Linked DNA regions of Homo sapiens: region 1 is linked to region 2. The links are contacts of gene promoters, found by promoter capture Hi-C in human tissues and cell types (Jung and others, 2019). All regions are on one chromosome and are shown on one strand. Each heading gives the region's core, a stretch centred on a gene start or on the middle of the fragment in contact. The rest is flanking DNA. Distances are from core to core; before and after follow the strand shown. Region 1 overlaps FARP1 (FERM, ARH/RhoGEF and pleckstrin domain protein 1). Region 2 holds the start of MBNL2 (muscleblind like splicing regulator 2).

What was found. The method cuts DNA at HindIII sites, captures the fragments that hold promoters and counts their contacts. A contact is called where the count stands out against the background at its distance.
Region 1: a fragment that was not itself captured here is called in contact with the fragment with the promoter of MBNL2 in region 2 in 1 of the 25 tissues and cell types used here (spleen).

What each region holds. Positions count from the first base shown.
Region 1 is chr13:98,448,706-98,453,274 of GRCh38, forward strand. It overlaps FARP1 (FERM, ARH/RhoGEF and pleckstrin domain protein 1), which reads left to right. Exons shown (of 27, transcript NM_005766.4): 27 at 1-4,569. It overlaps STK24 (serine/threonine kinase 24), which reads right to left. Exons shown (of 11, transcript NM_001032296.4): 11 at 1-4,504. The coding sequence ends at 4,468. Among named protein-coding and RNA genes, the nearest start is that of FARP1-AS1, 15 kb to the left of the region's middle. The HindIII fragment of the contact is 6,145 bases long and covers 47-4,569 here.
Region 2 is chr13:97,221,083-97,225,250 of GRCh38, forward strand. It overlaps MBNL2 (muscleblind like splicing regulator 2), which reads left to right and starts at 1,251. Exons shown (of 9, transcript NM_001382683.1): 1 at 1,251-1,449. RefSeq lists an enhancer at 1,273-1,332. The HindIII fragment of the contact is 5,720 bases long and covers 1-2,342 here.

The DNA of each region.
Region 1 (4,569 bases), core at 1,869-4,368, 1.2 Mb after region 2:
GGCTGCTGCATTTTACGAAGTGGACTTCCCGGTGTTTGTTTGTTTGTTTGCAATACACTCAGTGCAGCCTTAAGCAAATGAGATCATTTTCAGATTTCATTTTTTTTTTCAGTCTTTCTACTTTTGTAATAATAGGAAGTTAGTAGGACTCACTTCTCTGATTAATAAGCAATTTGCAGCACACAGCGTTCCACTGCGGGGTTTCACGCTCACCTGAAAACACCTGTTCCCAACCTACTTCTTGGTGCAAGTTGACCAAATCGTTTTAAGTGGTAACTCTTTCCAACCGTAGCAGGGTTGTTTTCTGTTAAGCAAAGCCGAGATCCAGTGCAATACCTGGACTGTCACCGTCCTGTGAGTGGTGTACACAATGGGAAGATAATAAGCCGTGGTGTTTTGCTGTCTGTCTGTGTCACAAGCATGAAAACCCGTGTGTCATTGATCAGCACCATTTGTGGTATGTTCCGTGATGAGCGTTTAGTGAGCCTGCTGGCTGCAGAGCACTATGAAATCATGGTACGTAGTCCCCGGCACCTGTCGTTATTCCTATATCCTCCTGCAACTGTGGTTTGAAACTGCGCATTCTCTAGTAGTATATATCGTGCCTGTCTTCAAAAACATTTCCCTTTTTATACTCATTCCCCCCAGGCATGGGGTAGTGTCAGTCGGACTGCACAGGGAACACGGTTTCCAGTGGCTTTGGCCCCTACTCGGGAAACGTCTGCCTGTTCTCGATGGTGATGGGGTGGCTGCCATTCCCTTGGTTTTCCTAAGCCCTTTCTAACGAGAGTCTCAAACAAGCGGAGGCGAGGGCCAATTCAACCCCATTCTTTCCAGCGCCCCGCACCATAGCACCTGCCCACCTGAGAACCAGGAACGCACCCTCTCTGTGGAGCTCTGACTGGTGTAGCTGGAAACAAACAGCAACTTGCAAACGGACGAAGAGCCTGCCGTGTGTTAATCATTTGCCTTACAAGATGTACCAGACGGTTTCCAGTACTAACAAAGGGAATAAAAATACCTCACGCCACAATCCAGCATATTGATGTTTTAAGGCAAAACAACCAACTTTGTCTGTAGTCTTCATTTTCTGTGTGGGGGGGGAGGGGGGAAGGGGACACTCCAGCAAGGGTTTCTAAAGCCCCAGTGTTCAGAGTGACACAGGGAGGGCCTGCCCCCCACTGTTCCCTATGCTCCCCCCACCTCCAGGCAGGGGCAGAGCAAACAAACAGCTCCGGGCCACACAGCAGCATCAGGCTCCCTCCAGAAGTCACCACTCACTCATTCCTGGAGACTTGGGGACAAGGCAGTCTCCTCAGCTATTTATTTCTGAATGATTGATTGATTCCAAACTACTTGCTGGACACTGGTGGTTCTGACCTGTGACCAGCACCTCTGCTTCCTGTGTGCCCTCAAGAAAATACTAGTGTGGGTAACAGTCCATCTGAGTGGAGTTTGAGACACACTACACATGAGACACACAATGATGCAGATACTCGTTTTCTTGAGCTTTATTGGCCCCTGCATGATACAGTCCCTGTGCTTAAGAACATGCCCTATTAGGTCACTCTGCCTTTGCTGACACATTTTATAGCAGAAATACACAAGCTGTTTTTAAAGGAGGGAAATATAAAAAATGTTTATAAACTGACAGTGTTTTGCCAGAGGAAAGGTACAAAATGCTACATACAGAACCAAACCAGCCACTTCACAAGAGCAATGCAGGGATAAAACTATTGGATAAGGAAGGCAGATGCACTTCCAAGAAAATCAGAACCCAGCAAGAAGTGGCCAGTGCACCCCAAACCACACTGGTGTCCACCTCATTGGCAGCAGCCAGCCAGGACACAGCTCAAAAACGCAGGAGCTACCAGCCACCCAGTCCACGGCCCTCGTCTCCCAGAGGCTGAGTACCTCCCCAGGCTGCAGGCTCTGGGCAGCTGAGCCAGGAGCAGCTCAGGGCTGGCACTGAGAGGCTACTGGTGACAGTAAACCCGTCTCAAAGGCTGGGCCTGGCTACAGACCAGCAGCAGTTGACGCTGAGGCAGGTTCCAGTGGTAGCCCTGGTGCCTGGGCTCTCTCTTAATGCAGGCCTGGAAGTGGCGACACAAAAGCCAGCTTCCTTGGCTAAGATGCCCTTAAAAACATTGGGGCTGATTTTGTGCGTCTACAGAAAGTAACAGCCCAGGAGAGAATGTACACAGAGGCGAGCTTTCTAACTCCATCAAACCCCACCTCCCCCGACAGGAAATGCTGCCAGTCAACTCTAAAAGAACCACTTGTTGCTCTACGGGGGAAGGGGCTGAGTATGATTTGTCTGGCGACTGCAGAGACTCCCCGTTCATACCAGTATTCATTAGAACCCAGTCCCTCGAGCGGCTCACCCACTGTTACTAGCATGAGACTGGCTTCAGTGCTAAAAACTGTGATGTCATTGTCCATTTGTAAATCTGAAGAACTCTGTAAATCAGAAAAGCTGCTGTCCGCCCTGGCTCACTTAAAAATCAGGTAACGGCACACCCTGGGGAACACAGACTCAATCTGTGTGATTCGCAAGGACAAAACTCATCTTTGACTTATGCCGCCGGCCTCACGTAAGGAAACAGTTCCCCACACAGAATACTCCCTGGAAACACAAAATGAAATCTTCTCCAATTTTATTATTCAACATAACATTCTTGTATGGAGTAATGAGTACAATAAGAATTAGCAACTCAGTTCTATTTCCCCAACCAAAATATATCCCTTATACAAATTAAGAGTTCAACCCAAATCCACTTCTAATAAAATACCTCAATTTTAGAGCTTAAAAACCAGACTGCACTAGCAAACCGACACAATAACCCACTCAAGCATCTGTAGCTCAGGGCTCTGTCCCCTCCCTATAGCTTAGAGGCCACTAGACCAGCAGATAGCTGAGCTACATCCCCAAGCTCACCCACTAACTTCCTTGCTTCCAAAAATCCTGTCTTAACTCCACAAGAACTGGCACACCCACGGGAGATGTCAATCATCAGCTTCAACAAACATAAAAGAATGCTTCATGTACCAGTCAACAGCTGCTGCACGAACCCTCCCACTCCAGAAACCCAGAGATTTTCCCCCTCGCCAAGCAAGGTCCCACAGCAAACCAAGAAAAACAGACACACTGGCTGCCTGCCTAGCAAGCATAGGCCCCTTCCAGAGAAGCAAAATAACTCTTAAGGTCCCCGGCAACCGCTACAGCAATCGCACAGATCAGCAACCTCCAACTGCATCATCTCGGTGAGCAAGTGCGCAAGCAGTCCAGGGCGCTGACCTGGGCACTCGGCAGCTCCAGGCCTGGGGACTTCTCCCTGGAGTCTTCCAAAGTGTCTCATCACACACACACAGCCACGAGTACACACGCACGGCCACACATACACAGCAGGTGCCCTGTCCTCTGAAGAGTCACATTTCAAGGAGTATGCAAAATAAGCGTGTTATAAAATTTATTTGTGTAAGCATTCAGACATTTTTAGGTGGGAAAGATGATATGCAGAATCCACTACAAGGTGCAACAGAAAATCGTATTGGAAAGGACGGTACATCTGGCGCAGACCAGCAGTGGCACGATTCCAAACAAATGTCAGACGAGAGCGCTTCATGGGGAGAAACTGAAAATTATAATTTAAAGCTTCATGAGGCAAGATATGTTCCAATTTAAAACACTAAGAAATAGTACCATCGATGAAAAAGGAAATCAACCTCTAGGTGTACCAAAAGGGGCGTAGGGCAAACGGGGAAAATTTGCATTTGTTGAGGTACAAATAGGAGTGTTCTGTAAGAGAGGGGCATTAATTATTAATGACAAACCCTGCAAATACAAAATAAAACCCAAATCACTGGTCACAGAATTCAAAATGTACATGTAATAAAGGCAAGGCAATAGACTCAAGTTATGGCCTGTCGAATATTTACTCCACTGACGTTATCTACAGAAGCACTTGGCCAGTTTGTACACAGTGATTCCTTATGCACGCCGAAAGGGTTTCCGTAAAAATGACATTATATACAAATCTGTACACCCATCCACCAGAGCGATTCTCCAGCTCCCAGAGGGAGTTATCAACTTAAAGCAGGATACCTGAGGTTTCATGTCTTTAGTTGCCTTATCATAATCCCAAATATACATTTCAGGGTTTGTTTTTGTTTTTAAAGACACTTTCCTGGAATATGTGCACTATGGTTAAAATTAAAAACAAAAGTAATAAAATAAAATAAAATGATCGCTGGAAGGAGCTGACCCTCCCCACCCATCTGAGAGACTTCATCTGGCTGCAGCACAGTGAAGACTGTGTGTGTCCCTGGACGGGCGCCTGGCGCTGGGGTGGCTCCCAGTGGCGCACCTCTTCGGTGGAGTCAGCGAAGGCTCTCGTTGACTTTTAAAAAAGGAGGAGGATGAAGAAGGAAAAAAGGAAAAACAAAACCCCAAATGCCAAAGGAATTTCAGTGGGATGAAGTTCCTCCACCACTTAGAGAGTATCTAGGGAAAAAGAGAGAGAGAGAAGTCAACACATGTCATTTCTCATCCCTGTGCAAAAATTCATA
Region 2 (4,168 bases), core at 1-2,500:
TTATGTTTTTAAGATGCAATGGCAAAATAAAAAGAAAGCATTCCATTGCATTCTGTTGCTTCATTACAGATGCGCTGAACAGTTGCTTATAAAAATCGTGCATTGGGTTCAACCTTTCAGATGAATAAAGGCTTTGTTCTGTCTTGGTCTCATCATGTAATCATCATACTTTTTTTTTCTCAAAATGTGGTATTTAGGGGAGGAAAATGTATGCTTGTTGTGTTTGCTCAATGCCATATGTTTTTGAGTTTTTGTTTTCAAGGCATACAGAAATGCTGTAGACTGGGAAATAAATAAATAAATAAATAAATAAATAACCCTTCCTAAACTTTCTCTTCTTCTGCTTTATCTCAGGAAACTCCAGCACCTCCTAGAACATCTTTTGTGGAATGGCACCTCATGGGGGCCCTTGGATCATGTACCCCTTGTATTCAACAGTAAACATCTTCCTATAATCATTGCTTCATTAACGATAATGTGAGCCAATGCACAGTATTTATCAAATGGCATCTAAGATGGTTAAAGCACACCTAATCCTCTCGTGGGTGCCTGCCAAGAGTAGAAAAGGGTAGTGTATAGATATCAATTTTATTGTCCAGCATTCCCTAATCGAAGTCCCAAGTGGTCTGAAAACTTAGACGAAAGATAAATGGGCCGCAGTAATTAACCACTGCAATAACAGATGTTATACAGGAAACCTGTGTGTGCCAGAGCTATAAGCATGTTTTGATTTTGAATACGCACTTGGGCTAGCACATTCTTCCTCAATAATGGAAATATGTAAATGTTTTGTAAGGTATTAACTGCCATGGCAGACGTTGAATTATTTTTCCTTTAAAAAACATATACATATGCTTTGTCAGATAGTCCAAGGACTTCAGTTTCATGTACAACCTGGATTTCTTTGGAATCTGCGGAGTTTCACATTTTCCCAAGTGTTCACGGTGAAGCTCCTGGCTTCGAGCTGGCTGTCTTCAAGGGTGTTTTCTTGAGCTACCCCTCTCTCTGCTCTGCCAATTATGTGCCACTTTGTCTTGGTGCTATGATTGCTTTCTTCTGAGAGGGAAATTCCTCTTTCATCAGTATGGATGCACTGTTTTTACACACTGCAAGTGCTGTGTTACTGTGTCAGTCATCCTATTAGGGCCAGTTTCAGACGAGTAGGGCTGACGAGCTGGCTGGGGATTGGCTGGCCCCGGCTGGGAGGGATTTGTCGGAAGGAAGGGCTGCAGCTTACAGCAACAGAGTTTAGACTGTCTTTGCTTCATCATCTGAAGGTAAAATTTTCCAGATACGGCAGACGGCTTTCAGAGTACAATAAACAGGGAATGAGAACTATTTACATGGAAGTTTCTTTCTCATGATGCGGTGGAGAAGCCTCGGCCACTTGGTTCTGCCAGATGTTCCTGGGGTTACTGTAAATGGGAAGGACAGGCAGAGCTAAACAAGGTAGGAGAATCGCCCCCCTTTTTTGAATGTTTAAAGAGTTTGCTGCAGTATGCTGCATTCCATGTGTGCTGCTTACGGGAGCCAGGGAAACTGGATTCCACTAATTCAATTGTAATACTTGCGGGGGACCCTGGAGTTTTACGTAACATTTTGATTTGAGAAAAAGAAATGGCAAAGCTTGAATCTATGCCGCCTGTTTGGGGTGAGGCAAGAAATCGAGTTTTTATGCAAAGAATCGATTCATTTATTATATTATTTTTTAAAAACCATTTGAATTCTTTGGAGCAATCTTATTTTCTTGCTGTGAAAAATTGTTATATTGCCATAGCTAGTTCCCAAATAGATAAAGTTTACATGGATCCTATTATTTGAAAACAGACTTGCAATTAAGGATTAAAAAAAAATTCATGGTAAATAATCATCGGTTGAATGTTTGGCCAAACGTATGTGTCTATTTATTAAAAATTAGGGACCTACCTAGCTCTACAATGCTACAGCTTTAATTGAGTTTCAAAAGCACATTTTAAACAACCTAGCAAGAGGTAGCTTTCTGGCAAGTTTTCGATACTGTAGTTCAATGTTTACATTTCTTTTCCTGGCATGTCTGAGCCTTTGTTTCCAGCTTAAAAGTGGAACCATTATATTCAAAAGTAAAGCTGGGTTAATAATGCTTACTGCAATTATCTGATCTTTATGCATTTTTAATGAGAACACACAGCCAGCAGAATAATTTAATGAGGGCAGGCTAGCTTTTAAAGCTGTGTTTTCACTATGCCGAACCATATCAACTTTCTCGCTGAGAAGCAGCAGTGAGAAATGATGGAGAAGATTTATTTTTAACACACTTGGCCCAGGAGAAGGAAAGGATATATTTGCTAAAGAATTCTTTCTGCCCTTTTCCGTTTTAAATTTCTGCCAGGCATGAGGAAACTGTGCTTTTTTGTTAGGCCTCGGAAGCATGTGTTTACAATAAATGTGTAACATTTTTAGAATAGTTAGCAAGCACTGAAGCGAAGAAAAAAATCTGACTTGCCTAACCACCACCACCTTGAATGTTCTACAAGAAACATTACTGTCCCTTTAAAAGACAAAGGTTAAGTGGAAAGCTATTTGTTAATTGGGTAATGTGTGTGTTTTGGGGACAATAAGGTTTTTAAAAAAGGCAGGGGGAACATTCTTATAATCTTTAAATAAGAGGAAGTTTCTTCAGCTATCCTACTTGTTTTGCAAGGAGCAGTAGAACTACTCATTTAAATAAGGGCAATGCCACGTAGATTCTTCTAGACCCACTGTTTTTACTTTCAAGGAGAAGTGCAGGACACTAGCCCAGAACTTCTGACGTCATCCCCCAACTATTTCTGCTGTGTGTTCCTTTATTCGAGCTTGTGGAGAGGAATATTTCTTTATGTCCTGGCCAGGAACATTCTAACTCCCCACTGGCAGGACTTAAGTTATGTCTTTATATTTTCGCCTGTCTTTTGTAAATTGTAAACCTGTCCCCTCATAAATAGGGCATCTTCTTGTACCTGCCACATGTCGGGCCGGTCAGCACAGGTTTTCTGCAGGGCTTCTGGCTGGGCTGGCAAAAAGCAGCAGGGAGCAGGGCAAAGCTTTTTTTCTGGCCTGACTCCCCCTTGGTGCAGCCCAGCGCTGCCACCTGGGTGGATGGTCCCCGGGGCCCTATTCCCAGTTGCTCCAGAGCCACTATTTAGGATCCAGGTTGTGCCACCAAGTTCAAGGCTGGTTGTGATGGTGAGAACAGCTGCTTTCATAGAAAAATCATCATGTCCTAGCACAGATGGCCCCAAGCAGGGGAAGTACAATACTGCAGGCTGCAAATCCATGTCACAGGTGGCAACCTTGGTCACAGAGATCGGGGGAAGGGTAATGTTTACAAAGGAACCTTTTAAAAAAGATTTTGACTGGAGCACATTGGAGTTCTCGGGAGTTCCCAAAGCTAATTTGTGTCTCCTCTCTGACTACTCACGTAGTTTTGAGCAAGTGCCTACCTTGATTTTTCTGTCTTTTAATAGAATTGAATCATACTTGCTACACTTTCCCTCATCATTTAGCATTTTGAGACCTTGACCTTTTACCAAAAAAAAAAAAAAAAAAAAAAAAGTTGTTTGTCTCTTGGCACATTGAGCTATTTAAAGTACAAAGGGATAAAACCTCGGTATTAAGAAACTGTTGGCAAACACCTTAGAGTATTAAGATACATAGTCATATACACAAAACCCTTCACTCTACTTTGTGCTCATGTAAATTTTTTAGGGATACTTTTTCTTAGTTCAACAAATGAAATTTCCAAGGAAATCAAAGCGTTGTTGTTTGCATTTTTTCCATCGATCTAATCTAATATACTAGAAGCTCTGCAAAGCACACTATTCTGGCCACAGGCCTTGTAGTGCCCAAAACATTTAATGCTGTTTTTCCTTTGACTTTTGTGTTAAATTTGTGAAAGTGGAGTAAATAAGAGAAAAAACAAGAGGGAAGGAGAAAAATATGCTTGTGAAATATACTGGTTAGGTAGCTTTACTGGTTAACAGCCTGCCTTCTCTCTGCTAGTTGTTTCAATTTGCTGTTGCTATGGTGAAAACAAATCAATATCACATGGCTACCAGCCAGTCCCGCGCTCAGGGAGTGCCATAGAAATTCAAGATCAGGTACTCAAGATTCCAAGCAAGAATTGGGAAAAGAGGATTTAGATGCTGAGCTT